2 separate regions of the Homo sapiens genome follow, and region 2 is linked to region 1. Evidence: promoter capture Hi-C in human tissues and cell types (Jung and others, 2019). All regions are on one chromosome and are shown on one strand. The core of a region is centred on a gene start or on the middle of the fragment in contact, and the rest is flanking DNA. Distances in the headings are between cores, read along the strand shown.

Evidence for each region. Contacts are between HindIII fragments. The study calls those that stand out against the background at their distance.
Region 2: a contact is called between a fragment that was not itself captured here and the fragment with the promoter of VAT1L in region 1, in 2 of the 25 tissues and cell types used here (adrenal gland and neural progenitor cells).

Annotation. Positions count from the first base shown.
Region 1 is chr16:77,786,161-77,790,402 of GRCh38, forward strand. VAT1L (vesicle amine transport 1 like) reads left to right here and starts at 2,404. Exons shown (of 9, transcript NM_020927.3): 1 at 2,404-2,755. The coding sequence starts at 2,523. The region is part of intron 1 of LOC107984878 (a long non-coding RNA gene); the gene reads right to left. The HindIII fragment of the contact is 13,812 bases long and covers 1-4,242 here.
Region 2 is chr16:77,648,395-77,652,843 of GRCh38, forward strand. No RefSeq gene overlaps it. Among named protein-coding and RNA genes, the nearest start is that of LINC02131, 60 kb to the left of the region's middle. The HindIII fragment of the contact is 6,352 bases long and covers 1-4,449 here.

The DNA of each region.
Region 1 (4,242 bases), core at 1,154-3,653:
CTATGTCCTCACTCCTTGGGTGAGACAACTCTGAGACTTGTTCTACACTGTCTCTCAAATGTCCCCTGCGGGTTTGAGCTCCAATTGTCCACTGCGGTAATCTGCTTATTAATACATCTCATATTGGGTAGTATCAATTTTCTGTCTCACTTTCCTACTTCCCAGCCAGAGCTTCCTGGGATTACTTCCAAAATAAACGACGGGTGTTCAAATTCTTGTTTCAGGACAGAATCCAGCCTAAACACTGTATCTCACAATGTAAACAAGACAAACAATTTGGACAATTGGATTCACAATAAAATGTTCAATTCACTAACCAAGCCCTATTCAGGCTTCTTTTAGCCCTCTTCCTTCCATCCCATGGCCATTGCCTCAGTTGGGACCATTCTCATTTATTTTGTTTCTTTTTGGGGATTTTTTTTTTTTTTTGCCTGCACTTAGTCTCTAACTGATCTCGATGCTTCCAGTAACTCTATCATCTAATCCATCACCCACTTACTGTCAAAGTTATTATCCTAAAATGCAGTTCTGGTAATGCTCTCCCCATGTTTTTGTTTTTTAAGCCTTTATGGCACCAATTGCCTCTGTGATTATGTCTTAAATTTTATAACCTGGTATGTGAGAACTTTCAAAAGCTGGTCCCAATAAACCTTTCAGCCTCATCTCCAATGATTGCTAAATACAGCCAATGTTCTGCCTACATAGAACAAACCAGAATCTCAAAAGCCCTTTTACCTGTTACCTTTCTGTGTTATTTGAATGAGCTTGCGACCTTTTCTGCCAGAAGAACCTGCCTTATCCTTCAAGGTCTAGCCCAAATGTTCCCTCCTCCATGAGAACTTCTCCAACTCTCTGGACCAGTTTTTCAACAGGCTGCCTCTGTGCATATTCTACTATGTACCAATCATGTATTAAGCCCTGGGAAAACCACGCTGGATAAAAGTAGAAATAGCTCCTGCTCACATGAAGTTCACAGTTGGATAAAGGAAACAGATATTATCAGGTAAACATATAAAAGTTGGCTACAAAGGGACATAAGTGTCTATAGTCAGGGAGGACACCAATCTGGAGGTTGGAGTGCCTCCCAACAGGAATGGACCCTTGAGGTGAGAACGAAGTAGGAGTTAACACCAGATAAAGGAGATGGAACACATACCCCAGGCCAAGGGGACAGCAGGTGCAGAACCCTGTGGAAGGAGGGAAAATGGCAATCGTCTTTTTTTTTTTTTTTTTTTTTTTTAAGGAATAGAAGACAAGGGCATTTAAAGCAGTGAGGCACAGGAAGAATGAGGGGAGAGAAGAGGCAGCACTTACATCATTCATTGTACCACATTTGTTGACTGTGTCCTTCATGCCTCATGCTCTGAAATTGACCTTTTCCAATATAAGGACCATGTCTCACTGAAATCATGTCCACCCCAGCACTTCACACAATATAGAAAAAAAAATCAATGTACCCAATTTATAGATGAGTGTGTTGAGGCTCAGGAAGGTTGAATGAGTTGCCCAAGATCTCAAGGCTGGCAATGGCATAGCAACTATAATAGAATATAGACCTACTTCCTCACCTGCATCTCTTTCCTTAAACTGCCCCTAGGAAAACCACGTCCTTCCCCATTATTTTATTTCAGAAATTCCAAGTTTTTCTATGAGCTGTTTTTCTCAAAGAGCCTGATAACAAAACAAAACGCCAGTTACTACTCTGTGTATGTGCATGCATGTTGGGGAGCGGGTACACACTGGTCTTCCGGGGATCAGAACACGAACAGGATCCTTTCTGGTACAGGATTCTTGTCTGAAGCCTCTTTAATAGCCCGAAATGGTGTGGGTGGTGAGAATTCGCCGTCGTAAGGAAGCCCCTGGTGATACCCAGCAAAGAGCATCCCGGCTGACCCTGCAGGTCTGGAGTGAAAAGACCCTGCACTGGACTCTTCAGGGCAGTGAGCGGGATCTCTAGTTCCCTGCTTCCCAAACCTCTCCGCCCTTCCACCCAAAACTGGCTGTTTGAGAAACGACCCAATTTCCCGACTATCCCGCCCAGCCTCGAAGATGGGAGGGAGAGAGGGCAACCTTGTCGCGGTAAGGCATCCTCCAGGCCCAGACATTAGTCTCGGTCCATTTCAAGGCACCCGAGCCTGTGCCGTATATAACCAAGTACTGGGCCCACAGGAAGGGGGATGACAGGGTGGTCTCTCTAGGCTCGTTTTAGTCACAGATCTTCGGCAAATTTGGGTTTAGGGCCGCGATCCCGACCCTAACTTGGGACTATTTCAGGAACTGGAGTTGAGGCTTCGTTGGGACAGGAAAGAAGGGTGGGGCGGGGGTGAAGCGCTTAGGGCACGGCTCTTGTGAGGATTACGGCGGAGGCTGTGGACCGCGGCGGCGCTCGCAGAGGCTGCAGCCATTGCACAGCCGAGCATCCCACATTCAACAGGAGGAACCCGCGGGAGAGGAGCCCCACTCCCCCAGCGCCGCAGCCACCGCAGCCACCGCAGCCCGTGCGCCCCGCGCCCTCGAGCGCCATGGCCAAGGAAGGCGTGGAGAAGGCGGAGGAGACGGAGCAAATGATCGAGAAGGAGGCAGGCAAGGAGCCGGCGGAGGGCGGCGGCGGCGACGGCTCGCACCGCCTCGGGGACGCCCAGGAGATGCGCGCGGTGGTGCTGGCTGGCTTCGGGGGGCTCAACAAGCTGCGGCTCTTCAGGAAGGCCATGCCCGAGCCTCAGGACGGCGAGCTCAAGATCCGCGTCAAAGCCTGGTCCAGTATCCGCGCCTTTCTCGCTTTCTCTCTTTTTGCGCGCTGGGCGCTGGGGAGGGGGTGGGAAAGCTGCGGCTGGGATGCTGCCCGGGTAGAACCGCCGCGCGCACCCCCTCCGCGCCCTCACCCGGGTCTCAGAGCCTCCCCGGGCCAAAGCTGGGGAGGATGCAGAGGGGCGGCCTCCCCAAGCCAGATCTAGGGGTGACGGGAGGAGAATGTGAGCTCCTGGGCGCGGGGAGAATGCTGGCGCCCAGGCACCCCGGGTCTGGAAGATTGCGCTACGGGAGTTCTCCGTCTGAGAGGACAACTCAGCTTTCGCACGGGAGGGTTGATGCTTAACAGAATTAAAAATATATGTATTAAGAACCGCAAGCCCACTGTGTGCCAGCCGCCGTTGGTAGTTTTACACGTGCGATCTTATTTAATACTTCCTGGGACCTAATGAGTCAGGTGCCATCATGATCCGTTTACAGGTAAGAAAGCCGCCGCTCAGCGAGAATGAGTGATTTGCCCAAGATCAGTCAGCTGCCACTAAGTGGCTTGGCCGGGAATTTGATACATGATCTTTTTTCACCTCTATGCTGTTGTCCTGAAGGGCCTGGGACAGGGTGCAGGGCTGGATCCCGCCTCCTGCCCACTTCCTTCCCCGTAGCCTGACGGGGAAAGGAACTAGGAAGGAAGAGGGTCGGTACCTTGCACCCAGGCTTGGTGAGGGTGGAGACCAGGGCTGCAGCGCAACCCCCTCCATGCCCCTCTCCATCCTCTGTTTCTCCGAGAGGGGAAAAAACCCTGATCAGTCTCCCCGGAATTCCTGGTCCCATCTCAGAAGGAGCTCAGCTCTCTAAGCTGCCCTCTATTCCCCATTCCCCCTGGGGGAACTTCTCCAGGCCCTCACGCTCAGCTGAAATTCCCGGGGAGAGTTTAAGCCTCTCTGTGTGCGGGCACTGTAATTTCCCTGAAGTTCTGGGAAGAGCTTACCCAGCAGAGGCGGACTGGACCCAACACTAGGTTTGCATGTTAAACTTGTAAGGGGAACTTGCTATTAATCACGGTGAGACGAGCCTATTCCTTCCCATCTGTTTTCTAGAGCCCCCCAGTACATACTGCTCTCCAAAGCAGCAGCCAGCTCACGAGCTTCTAGGTTAGATCAGAAACCCAATATCTGGACCTCTCTAGAGGCACGAGAAATACAAACGAGGGTCCCCTCCCGTTCACCACCTTGAGAACAGACGCAGGTTTCATCGGCCAGATTAGAAAGCAGCTAGTGGGAGAAGCAGCCGCTGATCCCTGCCTTGCTGCTCATATATGCAGCTGGTCAGGTTTGACTCTGAACACGACTCGTGAGTCTCTGTGGGGAATTCCGGGTAAGGGAAGAGGCTTTTGCAAACCGGGGGATCCTGTACAATAAACTCTTATTGAACCAAGTTGTTTGATCCCAGAAGGAGAGCTTATATCTGCCCTTTCGCAGCTAAATCCCCAAAGACCAG
Region 2 (4,449 bases), core at 1,216-3,715, 140 kb before region 1:
ATTTACTAATTACGTATGTGATCATCTCTTCACAGAAATTTAAGTTCCATGCAGACAAGGATTGAATCTGTCTTGTCCATGGCTGATATGGTTTGGCTGTATCCCCACCCAAATCTCACCTTGAATTCCCACATGTTGTGGGAGGGACCCGATAGGATAACTGAATCATGGGGGCAGGTCTTTCCCGTCCTGTTCTCATGACAGTGAGTAAGTCTCATGAGATCTGACAATTTCAAAAACGGGAGTTTCCCTGCATAACCTCTCTCTCTTTGCCTGCCACCATCCATGTAAGACATAACATGCTCCTCCTTGCCTTCCTCCGGGATTGTGAGGTCTCTGTCACCCAGGCTGGAGTGCAGTGGCACAATCTCGACTCACTGCAGTCTCTGCCTCCCAGGTTCAAGCGATTCTCCTGCCTCAGCCTCCTGAGTAGCTGAGATTACAGGCATGCACCACTACGCCCAGCTAATTTTTTGTATTTTTAATAGAGACAGTGTTTCACCATGTTGGCCAGGCTGGTCTCGAACTCCTGACCTCAAGTGATCCACCTGCCTTTGCCTCCCAAAGTGCTGGGATCACAGATGTGAGCCACTGTGCCTGGCCCACCTTAGCTCTTTTTTTTAAGTAGGTCTCTTCATTTCCAGCTAGCAGGTAATTCTTGATGCTTTCAGATCACCCCCTACCAGAAAAAGCACTAGTGAATTCCTCATACCCATGTGAATAAAATGAAAGCTCCATAGCTTGGAATACTCCATGTGGTCCCCAACCTGTTTTCAATTCCCTTCCCACATGATCCCTCAACATTCCCCTTCATGCAGGAAGCCTTTCCTAATTATCTTCTACCTGAAGATGTAACCAAATACTCCCACCGCATTTTCTAGAACTTTGTAAATGCTTAATTTTATAAATTAGAAAGCATATGCTAAATTGTTCCTAGTAGTCTGGAAGGATCTTCCAGCCATAACCTAGATCATATTGGTCTTTGTTTATCCAAAAATGCCGAACACTCTGTTTGACCCATAATAGCTTTTCAAAAACATTTCTTGAATTTAATCAAGTTAATTCTTTCATTTATTCTTTGAAACACCCAGTTTCTATTTACCAAGGACCACCCCACCCCAGGGATAAAAATGTAGAATTGTGTGACCTTAGGCACCAGCCTTAACTCTTCTAAACCTTGGTTTCTTTCTCTGTAAAATGATCTCTGCTATGAACCAGGTAAGATAATGCATGTGAAACACTTAGCCTAGTGTCTGGCACATAGTATATGCTCAATAAATGTTAACCTGATATTATTATTATTGTCTCCCAAGGCAGTCTGTTCCATTGCCAGGCAGCTACAATACTAAAGCACTCTTCCCAGTTCTGAGTAAAAATATAGCTTCCAACGACATGAAGCCAAGATTCATTGATCTTAGCTTCCTTGCTTGTGAGCAAGAAGAATCAAGTGACTTCTAAGCAGGCTCAGATAATACTTCTAAAAACCTGATTCTCGGTACCAGGCCTGGACTGAAACGAGGAAACTGAGGTCAACTAGGGAGAGAGAGCTGGATTTCATTAATTCCATGGATTTCTAAGAAGAGCTAAGGTTCTTTAAATGGGTTCCTTTTCTACCTTACAAGTTTCTCTCTGGGAGTCCAATATACTGCTTAAATTTCATTTATTTCCTCCAGCTGTAGTGTTTGGGTAAGCAAAATTCTGCAAAATGACTTCACCATTGGCAGTCATTTGCCCTTGGCCAAACTGACTTGCAATTATTCTCAGAGTGTCAGAAGTTTCCAAATTAGCTTAGTCCCTGTCTAGTGCTGAGTAGGCTCCTCAGGGTGGGTCATGTCCATGCCCTGGGCCTCGTGCAGGATGGATCCCATTGCCCCTGAAGAGTAGGTGCCCCATTGTCCATTTTCCCCCACAACTGATTCAGTTCCTGCTGGTAACTATGACATTGACATTTCTATTTTTTCAGCATCCTGCACCCACTTCCACTAGACTCTTCTGTCTCTGGTTTTATTTTTTTAAGTAAATGACCTCTAACTGACAGACGCTTCCCTTCTTGGAGACCAGGCTTTTCACTTTCTTCAATGCACTCTAAAACTGTTGTGTTGTGCTCTCAGGTTAGACAAGCCAAGCTGTAGAGAAGCTTCCACACCCACACACAGGTACTGGGCTTAATTTTCAGAATTCTGAAACGATTTCCAGAAAAGTTAAGAAGCTTCTGCAGCTCTTCAGGGGTTACAATTGCTTATTTTCATGTACACACTAACTTTAGAATAATCCACAATTTTTCTTCAACTCAAGCACCCAAGAGAAAATAAACTGTGTAGTATTTTTTTTAACAAAGTTCACTAAGTATCTACTATATTCCACTGCAGACAGCACTAACCTCCCAACTGACCCTCTGTCTCTAATTTTGTCTTTAATCTATTCTCTACCAGATCAGAGGAATGTTTTAAAATATATAAATCAGAATATCTTACAGCCCTGCTTAGATGTGCTCAATGGCTTCAGTTCTACTCAGAAGGAAATCATGGACTTCAAAGCCCTATTCCTCTGGCTTCTGGCATTTCTCCACTCACACCGTCTTCTCATTTGCTCACCACACACAAGCACACAGAACTTCTTACAGCTCCTCAAATGTGTCGTATCTTTCCTGGCAAAGGCTCACAGTTTTGCACCAACTCTTCCTTCCACCTGGATTACTCTTCCCTAAGGTCTAAATATCTGGCTCGGTCTCATTCTTTTGCCTCCATCATAAATTTAACTTCCTCTGAGAACTCTAGAGTAGAACCCTCTTCCTAACTATGCAAAGCTGCTCTTTCAGTAATTTAGCGTATTTTCTTAACAGCCAGCCATACTCAGTGCCAGGCTTCTTAGAATTGCCATGATTTATGCAGATGATGGCACCAATTTCAAATAAATAAAAAGACTAATGAGAAGAGTCTTCAAACACAGAGTTGCTGCATTACTTCCTCTGGAGGGAGAAAAACAGTAACACAATAACAACCTTTAGTCATTAAACTTATGTGAGTCGTATATAAAAGCTACCTCCGTAACAGCCCCAGAGACATTGCTAGGCAGCATGATTAAAAAGAAAATATTCTCCTTCCTTCTCTTGAGCAGTGCCTTGTTTGCATTTTAAGAAGGAAATCCTACCATGATGGAGCTTCTCTCTGTCACTGGAAGAGCCAAGTTTGATATAATTGCAACAATAGGTTTCCTCTTTAACATTCCAATGTCCTTCTAGGACTGAATTATCAACCCACTTCACACTCCTTAGATGATGCGAAAACAATAAAATTAAGCAGAGACATTTCCTCTTGATCACTGTCCATTGTTGTGCTCTTCAAAAGACAGACACTTGACATAGAAACTTCGGTCATCAGTGAACAAATAAGCCTATGGTTAATAAACCTAGCAAGAAGCAAATCCTAATTTCACAAATTCTGGAAATTGAAGAAATTCAAAATCAAAATAGAATTTAAAAGTAGCAATCAGGCAAGGCGCGGTGGCTCATGCCTCTAATCCCAGCACTTTGGGGGTGCTGAGGAATGTGGATCGCTTAAGGTTAGGAGTTTTGAGACCAACCTGGCCAACATGGCGAAACCCCGTCTCTACTAGAAATACAAAAATTAGCCAGGTGCAGTGGCGGGCACCTGTAATCCCAGCTACTCAGGAGGCTGAGGCGGGAGAATTGCTTGATCCCAGGAGACGGAGGTTGCAGTGAGCCGAGATCACGCCACTGCACTTCAGCCTGGGTGACCAAGCAAGACTCTGTATTTAAAAAGTTGCAATGAGTAAATGCTAACACTTCATGAGTGCTTATTCTGTATGAGAGGTGGTTCCAAGCCTTTAACAGGTGTTATTTCATTTAAACCCCATTATCAACTGTTTGAAGATGTAGCTACTCTCTCTGCATTTTACAGATGAGAAAACTGAGGCATAAAAATATTTAAATGCACGGCATCACCCCGAGATTAAGGAGTGTGTTAGGATTTGATCCCAGGAGTTCTGATTTCAACCACTTATTTTTCCACTGTGCGCCGGAAAGACTTGGGAGTAAATAAATCATATTTAACAGACACACACAGTAACCAAGTACTAGGAGTCCCAAAGGAGAAAGGTTTCTGTAAGTGGTTATGCAAGGCTTCTGCTACCTTGCCAAAATCTTGAGACACCAATAAGTGTGGTTGTCCTACTCAACCTCATGTGATTCAGTCTGACAAAAAGTTGTAGGGATTCATGCAACATCTCCCTTCTCTTGCAACTGGGGCAGATCTTTCGTACCTAACCCTTGTCTGTCTGAGCTGTTACACTAGAGCCCTACCACCAGTTTCTTCTTTCATCATGCAGTCAATTGTCATCCTAAATCTCTGTTCTCATCACTTTGACTTCCTGCACCCATTACGTATTAGACCAACTGGGTATGAATCCCAGCTTTTCCACTTACTATGT